Linked DNA regions of Homo sapiens: all the other regions are linked to region 1. Evidence: promoter capture Hi-C in human tissues and cell types (Jung and others, 2019). All regions are on one chromosome and are shown on one strand. Each heading gives the region's core, a stretch centred on a gene start or on the middle of the fragment in contact. The rest is flanking DNA. Distances are from core to core; before and after follow the strand shown. Region 1 holds the start of PKDCC (protein kinase domain containing, cytoplasmic). Region 2 holds the start of LOC105374517 (a long non-coding RNA gene). Region 3 has its middle 40 kb from the start of PKDCC.

Region 1 (4,259 bases), core at 1,102-3,601:
TAACAGAAACACTGAAGCTTGGCAAAGATATCACAGGAATAATTATCTAATTTCAGAACATGTTATTATAATACCTACATGATGTGTAACAAACTTAACAATGTTCATGTTATATTCACCTACTCTGAGCTGTAGACTCACAACGCCAAGTTTTACCCTCAGAAGTTTCTCCAAAACACAAGGGCAGAGCAAGCCCCAAAGAAAGTTCTTCAGGGAATATTCCCCCACAACAGCTCCCTCACGGATTGAGACGTTTGGCTGGGTAGATGTCTATGGGGAAATTGCTGGAAGGAGGACAGAGCCTATCTTGGGATGGCAACTGTTCCTCCCAAAATCCTCATTCCTCCCCAGAAAAGAAGACATGGAACTGATAAGGAACTAGCAGCCATATTGGGGTGACACAGGCAGACAGGCTTTTCCTGATTCAGCTGTGGGCCGGGGGGGGCCTCCTAATCCACCCAGCTCCCCGTTTTCCCCAGGGGTCTGAATTGGACCAAGGCTGAGTGTGAGGGGAATGGTTTGCTGTTTGCTGCTGTTCCCTGTTGACTTTAGCCAGTAGCTCTGTTTACAAACCCAGGTTGGTTTTCCCAGCACAGTTAATTAGACCAAAGACATCTGGTGCAAGGCTGCGGAGAGGGCATCTGCTCAGAGCCTTCCCCCTACACCCTGCAGACTGCAGCCACGGCCCAGAGTGGGGCAGAACAGCTCTATCGGTACAGACCTGACTCCACCAGACCCAGTGTTCTCGGAGGAATCATGGCTTCCTTCACCCTGCCTTTCCATGCTTGCCAAGTCGGACTGGGCCCCAACTCCCCAAGCCATAGAGAACAAGGAGTCCGGGCTGGAAGGCCCACCTCAGTGGGATCATAGGCTGGAGATCAGGGACTCAGCTCTCTCCTCGGTCCTTCCATGTCCAAAGGAACAGGGCAGAAATTCCTGTCCCTTTCTCATCACAGACACTGCATTCTGTAGGAACGCCAGACCTCTTCAGGGAAAATCTCCCCTCCCTGGATACCCCCCCACCCACCCCCACCCCCAGAAAAAAGGCTGTGGACCCTTCTCCTCCCTGACCCCTCCCCAGCCAATCCCTGACACTGTGAGGAGGACAGAGATTAACCTGGCCCAGAGGGAGGCAGGAAGCTGCCCAGGAAGGTGAGAGGATCTAGGTGGGCAGTTTCAGAGTGGCGGGGAAGAGGAGAGCTGCGAGGGGGAGGGGCAGCGGCTTATCTCTCCCAGGAGGGGGGAGCTCACTCCAAACAGCTAGTGCACTGGCGTGTGAAAGCCCCTCAATTAGCACTAATGATGCAATCAGGGAGGGAGGAGGAGGGACCGAAGTTCTGGTGGCGTCAGCACCAACTTACACACAAGGTACACATTCCCTTCATCGGACACAATGGCCCCTTCAGACACGCCGAGGCACACACTCCACAGACAGCCGTCCGTGGGCACAAACGCACTCTTTGCCCAAGCTACTAGCATGCACATGGTTTCTTATACGCGGCTGACCCCGTCAGACCCCAGGCATCTTGAGGGGTAGGGAGCGACCCCCAGCTGCATTTGGGGCTTTAGAGGCAAGGAAAATCAGAAACACTTTGGTAAAAGGAGTTGAACAGGGCATCCTCGGCGAGCTCACGAGCATTCCTCTATGCCTAGAGCTCCTGTCCCACGCGCGCTCGCAGGTGCTGGCCCGGCTGTGCCCGCTTCCCCCTCACCATCGCCCCAATCCGGAATCCGGGGCTGAGCGAGGAGCCGCCACCCCCGGCCCCACCCGCGAGAGACGGGGTCCACGCGCCTTCCCTGCGCCCAAACCGCCCCGAGGCCCCCAGTCCCAGGAGGGAGCGCTGAGATCACTCGGATCTCCGCACCCCGGACTTAGCTGCTCGTCCCCTCCGGAGCCCGCTACCCGCCGGCCTCGCCCCTTTATCTTTCCCCCACTCCGCCCGGCCGGCTCCGTTATCCACCTCCCAATCCCGTTATCCGGCCGCCCCGGCCCCGTTATCCGCCCTCGCGTTGGGCGCGGAGCCCCCGCGCGCCTCCTGGCCGCCGCCGCCCCCTCCCCCGCTCCCAGACGGAGCTCGGGGGACCGCGGGCTGGGCGGGACCGCGGGCTGGGCAGGACCGGAGCCGCCTCCGCGCCGCTTCCCAGGCCCGGACGGCCGCGGGAGGAGGTCCCGCTGTCAGTCAGCGGGGAAGGCCGGGCCGGGCGGCCGGAGGGGGCGGCGCCGAGGACGGGCTCGGGCCGGGAGCTGGGAGGTGGAGGCGGAGGGGCGGGGGAGGGGGCGGGGGAGGGGGCGGGGGCGGGGGCGGGGGGCGGCTCTGGGCCTTATAAGCGGCGGGGGCAGGGCGGCAGGGAGGCAAGTGTCAGGCCGATGTGTCGCCCGCGAGGGGCCGGGGTCGGGGCCGCCGGGGCCATGCGCGCGGGCTGGGCAGGGGGCCGGCGGGGCGCAGAGCGGAGCCGCCTCGGAGCCTGAGCCGCCCGGGGCCGGGGCCGGGGAGCCGCGCGGGGCCGGCCGGCCGGGGGGAGGGGAGCGATGCGGCGCCGGCGGGCGGCAGTGGCCGCGGGTTTCTGCGCCTCCTTCCTGCTGGGCTCCGTCCTCAACGTGCTCTTCGCTCCGGGCTCGGAGCCTCCGAGGCCAGGCCAGTCCCCTGAGCCTTCGCCGGCCCCGGGTCCGGGCCGTCGCGGGGGCCGCGGGGAGCTGGCCCGGCAGATCCGGGCGCGCTACGAGGAGGTGCAGCGCTATTCCCGCGGGGGCCCCGGGCCCGGGGCGGGCCGGCCGGAGCGGCGGCGCCTGATGGACCTGGCTCCGGGCGGGCCCGGCCTGCCGCGCCCCCGGCCCCCTTGGGCCCGGCCCCTGTCCGACGGCGCCCCAGGCTGGCCCCCGGCTCCCGGCCCAGGCTCCCCCGGCCCGGGCCCGCGCCTGGGCTGCGCCGCGCTTCGCAACGTGTCCGGCGCGCAGTACATGGGCTCAGGCTACACCAAGGCCGTGTACCGGGTCCGCCTGCCCGGCGGTGCCGCGGTGGCGCTCAAGGCGGTGGACTTTAGCGGCCACGATCTGGGCAGCTGCGTGCGCGAGTTCGGGGTACGGAGGGGCTGCTATCGGCTGGCGGCCCACAAGCTGCTTAAGGAGATGGTGCTGCTGGAGCGGCTGCGGCACCCCAACGTGCTGCAGGTACGAGGGTGGGGACGCGGGGGTAACGGTGTTGGCTGGGAGTGCCCAAGACCTTGTCAACCTGGCTGGAAGAGAACCCCTTGATCTGGAGTGCCAGTGACTGCACCCAGGCTAAGCTAGACGCAGAAACCGGACCATGGCCCTTCCCACTGCACCACCCTGCTTCTCACTCCTGGGTGGGCGTCCCTTTACCGGAGAACTCCTGGGTTTCTCGGCTTCCACACATCTCTTAAAGACAGGCCAGGACAGAGGCTCCCAAAACTCAGGGGGTGGGGCAGTCCATTAGGATTTAGGACTCTACTCCGGGCTGGAGTTAGGAGGTTGAACACCAGGGATATTACCCCAAGCCAAAATGACCCTAAGCCAAGACACTTGAGTCAGAATTCCAACTGTGTGATAAAGTCCCCCTTCTTGATGGAACTTCTCCCAACTTCCAGTGATTTGTCTGGTTTTGAAAATGAGACGGGACAGCAGTGGGGCTGGGAAGAGCTGGAAAGAGACCATGTGTCAGGCTTGATTCCTATAGAGTCTCCCCACCCACCCACCTCCAGCGCCACCCAGAAGACACTGGAAGGGGGCTGGGGAGCAGGCTAGAAAAAGGGAACACAGTCCTTCCCAGAAGTGAACTAAGGGTTCCCCAGGCCTTAAAGTGGGTCCTTGAGCCCCTGGAGAAGCCTGAAGGTCTCAGCTCAGTGGACAGACTGGCGGCCTGAGGATCTAAATGTCACACTGTCTGAGTGTATATAGATAGCCAAGAGGCTGGAAGGTTGAGAAGGCCAAATGCTCAGGTTCCTACTCAACGGGACTCTGCCTCGCCTGTTCACTGGAGACACAGGCGAGAGCTGAAACCCCCACCTTGTCCCCTCCAAGCTAGACTTTGAGTGGGCCTCTCACAGTCCCAGCACCGCCCTAACACTCCACGTCCTCTCTCTCAGGTCTCCCCCCATCCTAAGATTAGACAGACTATTCCCTTTGCACATGTCTGAGCAAACAGAGGGGAATCCCTGACCGCTGTTGGCCCGGTGAACATGGGTGTGTGCAGCCTCCCCAACGGATGAAATCTTGCACACACCTTCCACCTACCAGCCCA
Region 2 (4,259 bases), core at 936-3,435, 60 kb before region 1:
ATCCTTCAAGTCTCAGCTCAACTATTACTGCCTTACGGAAACCTAATTTGACTCCCCATTAATGTTTCTCTTGGCACTTTTTACTTTGGCAGCACTGATGACTTATACCTTTTAAAGAATATATTTATTTGTATTATTGTTTAATGCCAGAGCCCCTGAGGGCAAGGTTGAATATGTTTTGCTCATGACTGTATCCCTTGTGATGATATCAAAAACTTGTATCAGTTAGAAAGAAAGAAAGAGAGAGAGAGAAAGAGAGAAAGAAAAAATAATGAAGTTCCAGTTATCTACCACTGCACAACAAACCATCTCAACATTTTACAACTTGAAACAGTAACCATTGTATTTTATCCCCCAACTTTGTGGGCTGGTAATTTGTGAAGGGATCAGCTAGGCAATTCATGTCTTCTATGGTCTCCATGAAGGTCATTCGATGGCATCAGATGGTAAATGGTCTAGTTTGGAGGGTCGAAGCTGGCTTTGCTTACATTTCTGGTGCCTTGATGGCTGGGGGGCCAGACTCATTTAGAACTACTGATGTGAATGGCTTCTCCAGTATGTTGCTATAAATAGGTTAGTCAAACTTTCTACGAGGTGGCTCAGAGGGAGGATCCCAAGAGACCCGGGTGGAAGCTTCAAAGTCATGTATGACCTACCTTGAAAGTTCCAGACATTGACTTCCACTGCGTGCTACTGGCCAAGCGAGTCAGTAAGGCGATCCCGGATCAAGGGAGGGAATTAGAACCCAACTCCCATGTGTAGAATGTCGAAGATGTTGCAGGCATCATCTCTAAGCCACCACAATGGGGCGGGGGACAGGGGAATGACATTTATCCTTTCACAGTGGTCATCCTGACTATAGTGCCCAGAAAGAAAGAAAAAGGATGGAATATGCCTAGGGAGATCAATTCAGAACATAATAGAAATAAAAATACAAAAAAAGAGGGTTTAAATGGTATCTACTGGAAGAGAAAAGGAGGCATGAATTTGAGAGATATTTTAGGAAGCAGTAGAAAGGAACAGTAAGAGCATGGACTATGGAGCCACATCATCTAGCTTTGAATCCTTGTTCTGCCACATACCAATGGTGAGAGCTCTGGAAAACTAGTTGTTTTCTCTGGTCCTCAGTTTCCTCATCTGTAAAATAGGTATAATAATTGTACTTATTTCACAGGGTTGTTGAACAGATTATATGAATTAATACATGGGGGAAAAGAGCCTAAAACAGTTTCTAGGTATACTAAGGGTACAATAAATATTAGCTCTTAAAGGAAAATAAATAAATAAAACTTACTAGGAGTCAAGTTTCGTCAGAAAGCCAAGGCATGGCTAGGGGAAATAGGAAAGGTTCCCTCTATCTATGTGTTCTGTTTGTCAGTGATGTTGAGGAGGCATTTTAAGCTTCCAACTTTGCAGCTGTAATGTACTTTGGAGTGTTGCATACTCCCACACCACCTAGATATGGTTACTTGCTAGGTTTACTGAATTCAATACTAGTGAAAAAACGGGAGCAAATAAAAATGCATAGAGATGTTTGAAGTATGGAGGAGCTGAAGATGCTCTATAAAAAGACCTAAGTCCTAATAAAATACATGTAACTGCATTAGCCTGAGGGCCTGGTCTTTCCTGCTCTTCCATCTTTTAACTGACATTGACCTTGCATCCACTCTCTTCCAGTCCCTGTGCCAGGTTCTGGGGATACGGTATGAACAAGACACTGTCCCTACATTTAATCCATAAACAAAGACATGCAATGCAGTGTCACAAGGGCTGGATCTGGGAGATGAGGGGACCCTGTAGATGCATGTGAGGGGACATTCCAGGCTGATGAGTGGCATCCACAAAGCTATGGAGGCATCTGGGGTTGGTGCTTAGGGTAGCATCGGTGTGACTAGAGTGTGGGGAACAGTGGGCTTGGCAAGAGCAGAAGCCCAAGGGGCAGCATTCAGGCCATGGCGATGTCTGCAGTGGTAGGCAATGGGCTGCGGGCATGTGGGCTCTTTATCTGGGTCTGCCTGCTGTCCTTCTGCAGAAATAGCCCATAAAGGCACTGAGATGCTGCCTGTCTAGCCCTTCACAGAGACAGAGGACCGGAATCAGTTTATTGCCATTCTCAGCTACTTCTTCAAAGTGCTTGAAGAGAGCAAACTGGTCATCCGGGCACCAGGTACAAGGACAGGAGGAGTTTGTGTCTGGCCATTAACGCTCACGGGGACCCAGCAGGCCCACTGTGTGCCTCAGATCCTGAGACTAAGTCCTTTAGTCTTACCCTAACTTCCTGGCAGTGGAGGAGGATAGACAAACATCTGAACCCTCTGCTGCCTTCACCCGCCTGCCTGCCTCTGTGGGAGCCAGAAGAGATGAACCCCAAGGATGGGTCTTGCCAAGCTTCCCACGAGTTAATACGTGGCACCTAAACCCCAAACCCCAGAGGGAAAACAGCATGCCCTTGCCTCATTCAGCCTAAAACTGCATGGCAGGACCAAGGGTTTGGCTCCATGAGAATGTACATTGAGGAGTGGTGTGTTAGTCCTTTCTCATGCTGCTATAAAGAACTGCCCGAGACTGGGTAATTTATAAAGGAAAGAGGCTTAATTGACTCACAGTTCCACAGGGCTAGGGAGGCCTCAGGAAACTTACAATCATGGGGGAAGGGGAAGCAAACACCTCCTTGTTCACATGGTAGCAGGAAGGAGAATGCCAAGCAAAATGGGGGAAAGCACCTTATAAAATCATCGGATCTTGTGAGAACTCACTATCCCGAGAACAGCATGAGGGTAACAGCTTCCATGATTAAATTACCCCCCACCAGATCCCTCCCACAAGACTTGGGGATTATGGGAACTACAGTTCAAGGTGAGATTTAGGTGGGGACACAGCCAAACCCTATCAGGTGGCAAAATCCCCAGATGGAGTTTCCCCACCAATGAGCATCCAACAGTCCAGCAAAGCACCTGATCCAGCCCTAATGCTGACCCCAACAGCAACCACACACTGACCCCAGCCTTGCATGGAACCCTAATCCAACCTAACCCTAACCTTACCGGACCCTTACCCACTGTGCTTTAATACCATAGCAATCTGAATCCAAGTCCCCAGCCTCCCTAACCCGATGCTCACCCTGAATAAAATAACTAAAATAACTTCAACACCAACATCCACTCCAATAAATCCTAGATTGCCTCTCAGCCCTAATTTTAGCTCCGATTCCAACTTCACCCCAGGTCAAAGGAAACACAGAAAGGAATGGTCTCTGGGGAGAGAAGTGCTGCTGCCCCACAGTCTGGTGGTCTTGACCGACAGCTGTCTGCCATATGTAGCTTGAAATGTACCTGGAACAATTGTCCTTTGGGTTTAAAATCTGATAGAAGACTACTGCCATTATGAAAGGATTTAATACACAGAAATCTCTTTGGAAAGAACCAGACCTTAGAAGTTCATAGTTGAGAAATAGAGGCATTTGAGTTATTTCCTCTGTGAATAGTAGACAGGGATGGAAGTTCTTAAGAAACTCTTCTCCTCCAACCCCTGATCTGCAGGAGTCATCAGGAAATGGGATTATCTTCAATTTATAAATGATGAATAATTGCCAGTTCTAAGCAGAGAGAGGAAGGGGGTACTGTGTCACAGACAGGAGAATACAAAGGGAGAAGCTAGATTTTTAAAAGAGACACCAGCATGTTTAATTCTTACTGTTCAGCCTCCTCCTGAGCCTGGAAGGCTGGTGCTGGGTGCCCAGCCTGTGGCCCGTAGGGTAAATGAGGGCTCCTGAGCCTGGCTCAGAGCGTGAGGCCCCAGGGTAAGTCCCAGAGTTGCACTCTGCTGGAGAAGGCAGAGGTCAGCCTAGAAATGTGACACCAAAATGGGCTGTCAATCAAACAGAAGAGAAATAACAGAGGCTGAGACACAAAGCCCAAAGGCAGAATGGCAGGAGCCATCAGGGCCAGAAGGAGAAACAGCGGGTTGGGACAGGAAAATGGGGTGGGGGTGGGGGAAGGCAAGCAGTCTGAATTCAACCCAAGGGTCCAAGGCAGCACCTCAAGAGCTTTTACACAATTACAGCACAAGTGCACATGGAAAAGTCAGATTCCTTTTTTAATAACTCCTTTCTCAGACTCAAAAAATTTAGAAGATTTAGAAAGTACAAAAAGTGTATAGACGCCAAGTAAAACGAACTACAACCCTTGACTTGAGTGACGCTCATTTAAAGAGGCAGGACATTACTAGGACTTAAATTGTTTCAAGAATTTATCCCTTTA
Region 3 (4,259 bases), core at 1,053-3,552, 40 kb before region 1:
TACCTACCACATCTTACCCATCTGCTTCCCCAGGGATGACACCCAGACAATGCTGTGATGCACATGCCTGCCATGTCCCCTCCTGGGCCTGTGTGAGTTAGACTGCTGGTTCATAGGATATAGTCGTAATTCAGTAGTGCCTGCATGCTCTGCTCCCTGAGATATTCCCAGAAGCAGAGGATGAGCAGTCATATACCCTCATATCCCTGCCAGTACTTGGTGTTATCCAGCTTTCTTATGCCTGCCAGTCTAATAGATGTAAAGTGGTATCTCATTATTGCTTTAATTTGCAACTATCTAATTATTCATGTGTTGGAGCAACTCTTTATATATTTGTTGGCCTTTTAGATTCTCTGGAGTAAGCTAATCAGATTTAAAATGGAAGAGGGAAGAGCTGTCTGTTTAATTAATCTTGATTCCTGGGAAAGTCCAAAGGGTTGGGAGGTTTCCAGGCATAGGAACCAGGGGTGCTCAAGCTTACAAATGGAAAATGTTTCCAGGAGAACCACTGGACCTGAACTGGGAGGTTTTCCTTGGAAATCATCTTTTTGTTTCCCCCAAAATACAAGACAGCATGGAAAACTGGATTTAACCAGTATGACTAGATATAACCAGCCAAAACATACTTCCTGGAAACATAAATAAGTTGAATTACATTAAAAGGAAGAACTTCTGCTCTTTGAAAGACATGATTAAGAGATTGAACAGGCAATCCACAGCGTGGGATGAGATATTTGCAAATATATATGGCAAAGGACTCAGATCCAGAATATATGAAGAACTTCTACAAATTAATAAGAAAAAGACAAACTACTCAATATGGGCAAAAGACTTGAAAAAGCACTTCATAAAAGAGCATCTCTATATGGCAAAAATCATATAAAAATGTGCTCAACTTTTTAAATAATAAGAAATACAAATGAAAACATCAATAAGATGCCACTACACACCCACCAGAATGACTAAAATGAAAAAGACAGACAATACCAAACATTGGCTGGAAAGTAAATTGGCGCATCCTCTTTGGAAAACTACTTGGCAATATCTTTAAAGATGCGCCTGTGCATACCCTTTGACCCAACAGTTCCATCCTAGGAATTCATCCAAAAGAAATGTGTTCGTTAAAATACATGTACAAGAGTTTCATACACTCTAGCCTGGGCGACACAGTGATACTCTGTCTCCTAAAAAAGGAGTGTTCATAGCAGCATTATTCACAATACAAAACTTGAAAGCTACCCAAAGACTCATCAACAATATGGATAAATAATGGTGTTATATTCATGTAATGAAATACTACACAGCAACAAATATAAAAGAACTGCAGTTTTACTTTACACAAAGTACAAAACCAGGTGGAACTAATCTATGGTGAAGTCAAGACAGTGATCACCCTCGAGCAGATATCAACTGGGAAGAAGTGGGAGAAATTTTCAGGGTGCTGGTCCCATGGGTGTGTTCACTTTGTGAAATTTCATCAAGGTGTAGTCTTATGATTTTTTAACTTTTCTGTATATGTTTATACTTCAATGAAACATTCAGAAATATTACGTGGGTACCTACTTTCCAGCCCCAGTCCCATAGTGACAAATCAGGAATAGGAGACAGCCCTGAAGGGAGAGAGAGTAGTTGGCAACGGGCTGCAGAATCATCGCCCACATACAAGAACAAATCCTCACCCTGCCTTGCTTTGCCAGTGGAGTACAAGGGAGTTCACAGCCAATATGTGCTTCGTGAGATTTCAGAGGAGGCAAGATAGCAGTGTCTTAAATGTGGGTAGGGTTTTATTAAGAACCAAGTACTTTGGCTAGGCACGGTGGCTCACACCTCTGATCACAGCACTTTGAGATGCCGAGGCAGGCGGATCACTTGAGATCAGGAGTTTGAGACCAGCCTGGCCAACATGGTGAAGCTCCGTTTCTACTAAAAATACAAAACTGAGCTGGGCGTGGTGGCGGGCGCCTGTAGTCCCAGCTACTCAGGAGGCTGAGGCAGGAGAATCACTTGAACCCGGGAGGCAGAGGTTGCAGTGAGCCAAGATCACGCCACTGTACTCCAGCCTGGGTGACAGAGCAAGACTGCGTCTCAAAAAAAAATTTAAAATAAAATTTAAAAAAAAAACAAGTACTTTCCATGCATACCCCTTTGCAGCAGAGGGAGCAGAGATCTCTAAAGTCAATGTGACTTCCTTAAGTCCACACTGCCAGTAAATACCAGAGCTAGATCTAGTTCCCAGGTCTTCTAGTTTAGGGATCTCCCTCGCATGACACACTGCCAGCTGCATCTGGGCTGAGGCAATCAGGAGGCTCTACAGGGGAGGAACAAGTTACACTGGAGGTTGAAGGATGGAGGCAATGCCCAAGGGCAGACAAAAGCAAATGCTATGGCAAGAAAGTGCCAGGGCCGTGAGCTCACAGCTTCAGTGGGATCTCAGCTTCCTGAAGTGGAGCTGTCAGAGGTGTTGCTAAAAGACAGGCAGGAGTGGCTAGGGAAGTGCAGAAGGGCCCCTCCGGCCATGCTCTCTTGCCCCTTCTCTAGAAGCCCTAGGAGACTCTCCTCCCAACAGCTCCCTGTGCCCCCAGATTTATTTTGCTTTCTTTCGCTAAATCAAACTTTATCAGACAGTTTTACTGTCAGCCATTAAACCAAAATGTGTTTGTGCAACAGTAAACACCTTGTTACTGCAGGGAAGGATTACATAAACAAAGGTGGGGACGAGACCTAACTCACTGTACCCAAGAGCTGTGCGGCCCTCAGTGGGGGATGGAGAAGGGCAAATGGAAGGGCACTTCAGGGGCGTCTGGAGGCCTGAGGCGAGGGGATAGGACACGCTCCAGCCTGAGGCTTCTGCCCTCGCCAGAATGGAATGAATGGCAAGTATTCCTCCAGTCAGAAGGGCACTGTCCTCTAGAGATCTCAGAGGGGGCCCAGGAACCTTGTCAGAGCCCTGAAGGGGGCAGAGGGGGAGGCAGAAAGGCTATTCTGAGGATGGGGTGGTCGGTTTGGATTAGAATGTGGTGTGATGGTGGTGGGTTGGGAGCTAAATAGGTGTGGGAAAAACTTGAAGCCTGGGATGAATCAAGAGAGGAGAGGGTTACGGTCAGATTGAGAAGACATGCAGGTAAGGAAGACCATGGCGGGGGGCTGCCCGCTTGGGCCTGAATTATTGGCCAAGGAGTGGAGAGACAAGGCCCCTTTTTGGGGTCAGTGGGGCAGAGAGGTTTAGACTGGCTTTGGGTGGGTGGCAGATACAGACATTGGGGTGTCAGACTAGAGGCAGGACCAGTGGGCAAAGCAGCCAGATAGACCACCCCTCTGAGTACACCCAAGGTCTCAAGGCCTCCCCTCAGGGCATGTTTTCCTGCCCTTCCTCTGACCTTCTTCCACTCATCCTTGCTCAAAACCCTCTAATCAGGGCTGCTCGCTGAGCCAGGCTGCCACATGACATAAGCTGTCTAGGGACAAGCCTGAAAGACAGGCTCCAAGGGGACCCCAAGTGCTATGCAGAACAGAGGGGACATTCAGAGAGGAGGTGAACAAATAGATTAAATGTGTGCCCCCACTGGGCACTGCGCTAGGAGCTTCTGCACCACAGGTACTTACTTTCTTTTTTTTTTTTTGAAATGGAGTCTTGCTCTGTCGCCCAGGCTGGAGTCCAGTGGCACGATCTCGGCTCATTGCAACCTCTGCCTCCCGGGTTCAAGCAATCCTCCTGCCTCAGACTCCCGAGTAGCTGGGGCTAAAGGCGCCCACCACCACGCCTGACTAATTTTTGTATTTTCAGTAGAGACAGGGTTTTGCAATGTTGGCCAGGCTGGTAATCCATCCACCTCAGCCTCCCAAAGTGCTGAGATTACAGCTGAAAGCCACCGTGCCTGGCCACAAGCACTTTCATTTTCAATCTCACACCCACACTTTGGGATAGAAAGTTCTGCTTAAGCTGGAAAAGTGAAGGCTGCAAAGAGCCATGATCATGCCACTGCATTCCAGCCTAGGTAACAGAGTGAGACCCTGTCAAAAGAAAGAGAGAAAGAGAGAAGAAAGGAAGGAAGGGAGAGAGGGAGAGAAAGAAAAAATTAGCCCCACACACCAGGCTGCCTTTGGCATCAATTGTCTTATATCGCCTACACTGAGCATTTCCTGTATGGCAGTCATTCTGGTTCTATTATTTCATTTAATCCTCACACTCATATGAGACAGGTTCTTTTATTATTCCCTTTTATAAATGGGGAAACCAAGACTCAGAGAGGTTAAATTAT

The links. The method cuts DNA at HindIII sites, captures the fragments that hold promoters and counts their contacts. A contact is called where the count stands out against the background at its distance.
Region 2: a fragment that was not itself captured here is called in contact with the fragment with the promoter of PKDCC in region 1 in 2 of the 25 tissues and cell types used here (dorsolateral prefrontal cortex and pancreas).
Region 3: a contact is called between a fragment that was not itself captured here and the fragment with the promoter of PKDCC in region 1, in 2 of the 25 tissues and cell types used here (heart right ventricle and neural progenitor cells).

What each region holds. Positions count from the first base shown.
Region 1 is chr2:42,045,670-42,049,928 of GRCh38, forward strand. It overlaps PKDCC (protein kinase domain containing, cytoplasmic), which reads left to right and starts at 2,352. Exons shown (of 7, transcript NM_138370.3): 1 at 2,352-3,169. The coding sequence starts at 2,531. RefSeq lists enhancers at 729-1,232, 1,233-1,737, 1,361-1,480, 2,981-3,240, 3,954-4,259 and silencers at 1,651-1,940, 2,051-2,300, 2,451-2,630, 2,641-2,740, 2,871-2,940. The HindIII fragment of the contact is 20,910 bases long and covers 1-4,259 here.
Region 2 is chr2:41,986,172-41,990,430 of GRCh38, forward strand. It overlaps LOC105374517 (a long non-coding RNA gene), which reads right to left and starts at 2,509. Exons shown (of 3, transcript XR_940000.2): 1 at 1,083-2,509. RefSeq lists an enhancer at 1,968-2,137 and a silencer at 4,238-4,259. The HindIII fragment of the contact is 4,472 bases long and covers 1-4,259 here.
Region 3 is chr2:42,006,044-42,010,302 of GRCh38, forward strand. No RefSeq gene overlaps it. Among named protein-coding and RNA genes, the nearest start is that of PKDCC, 40 kb to the right of the region's middle. The HindIII fragment of the contact is 7,796 bases long and covers 1-4,259 here.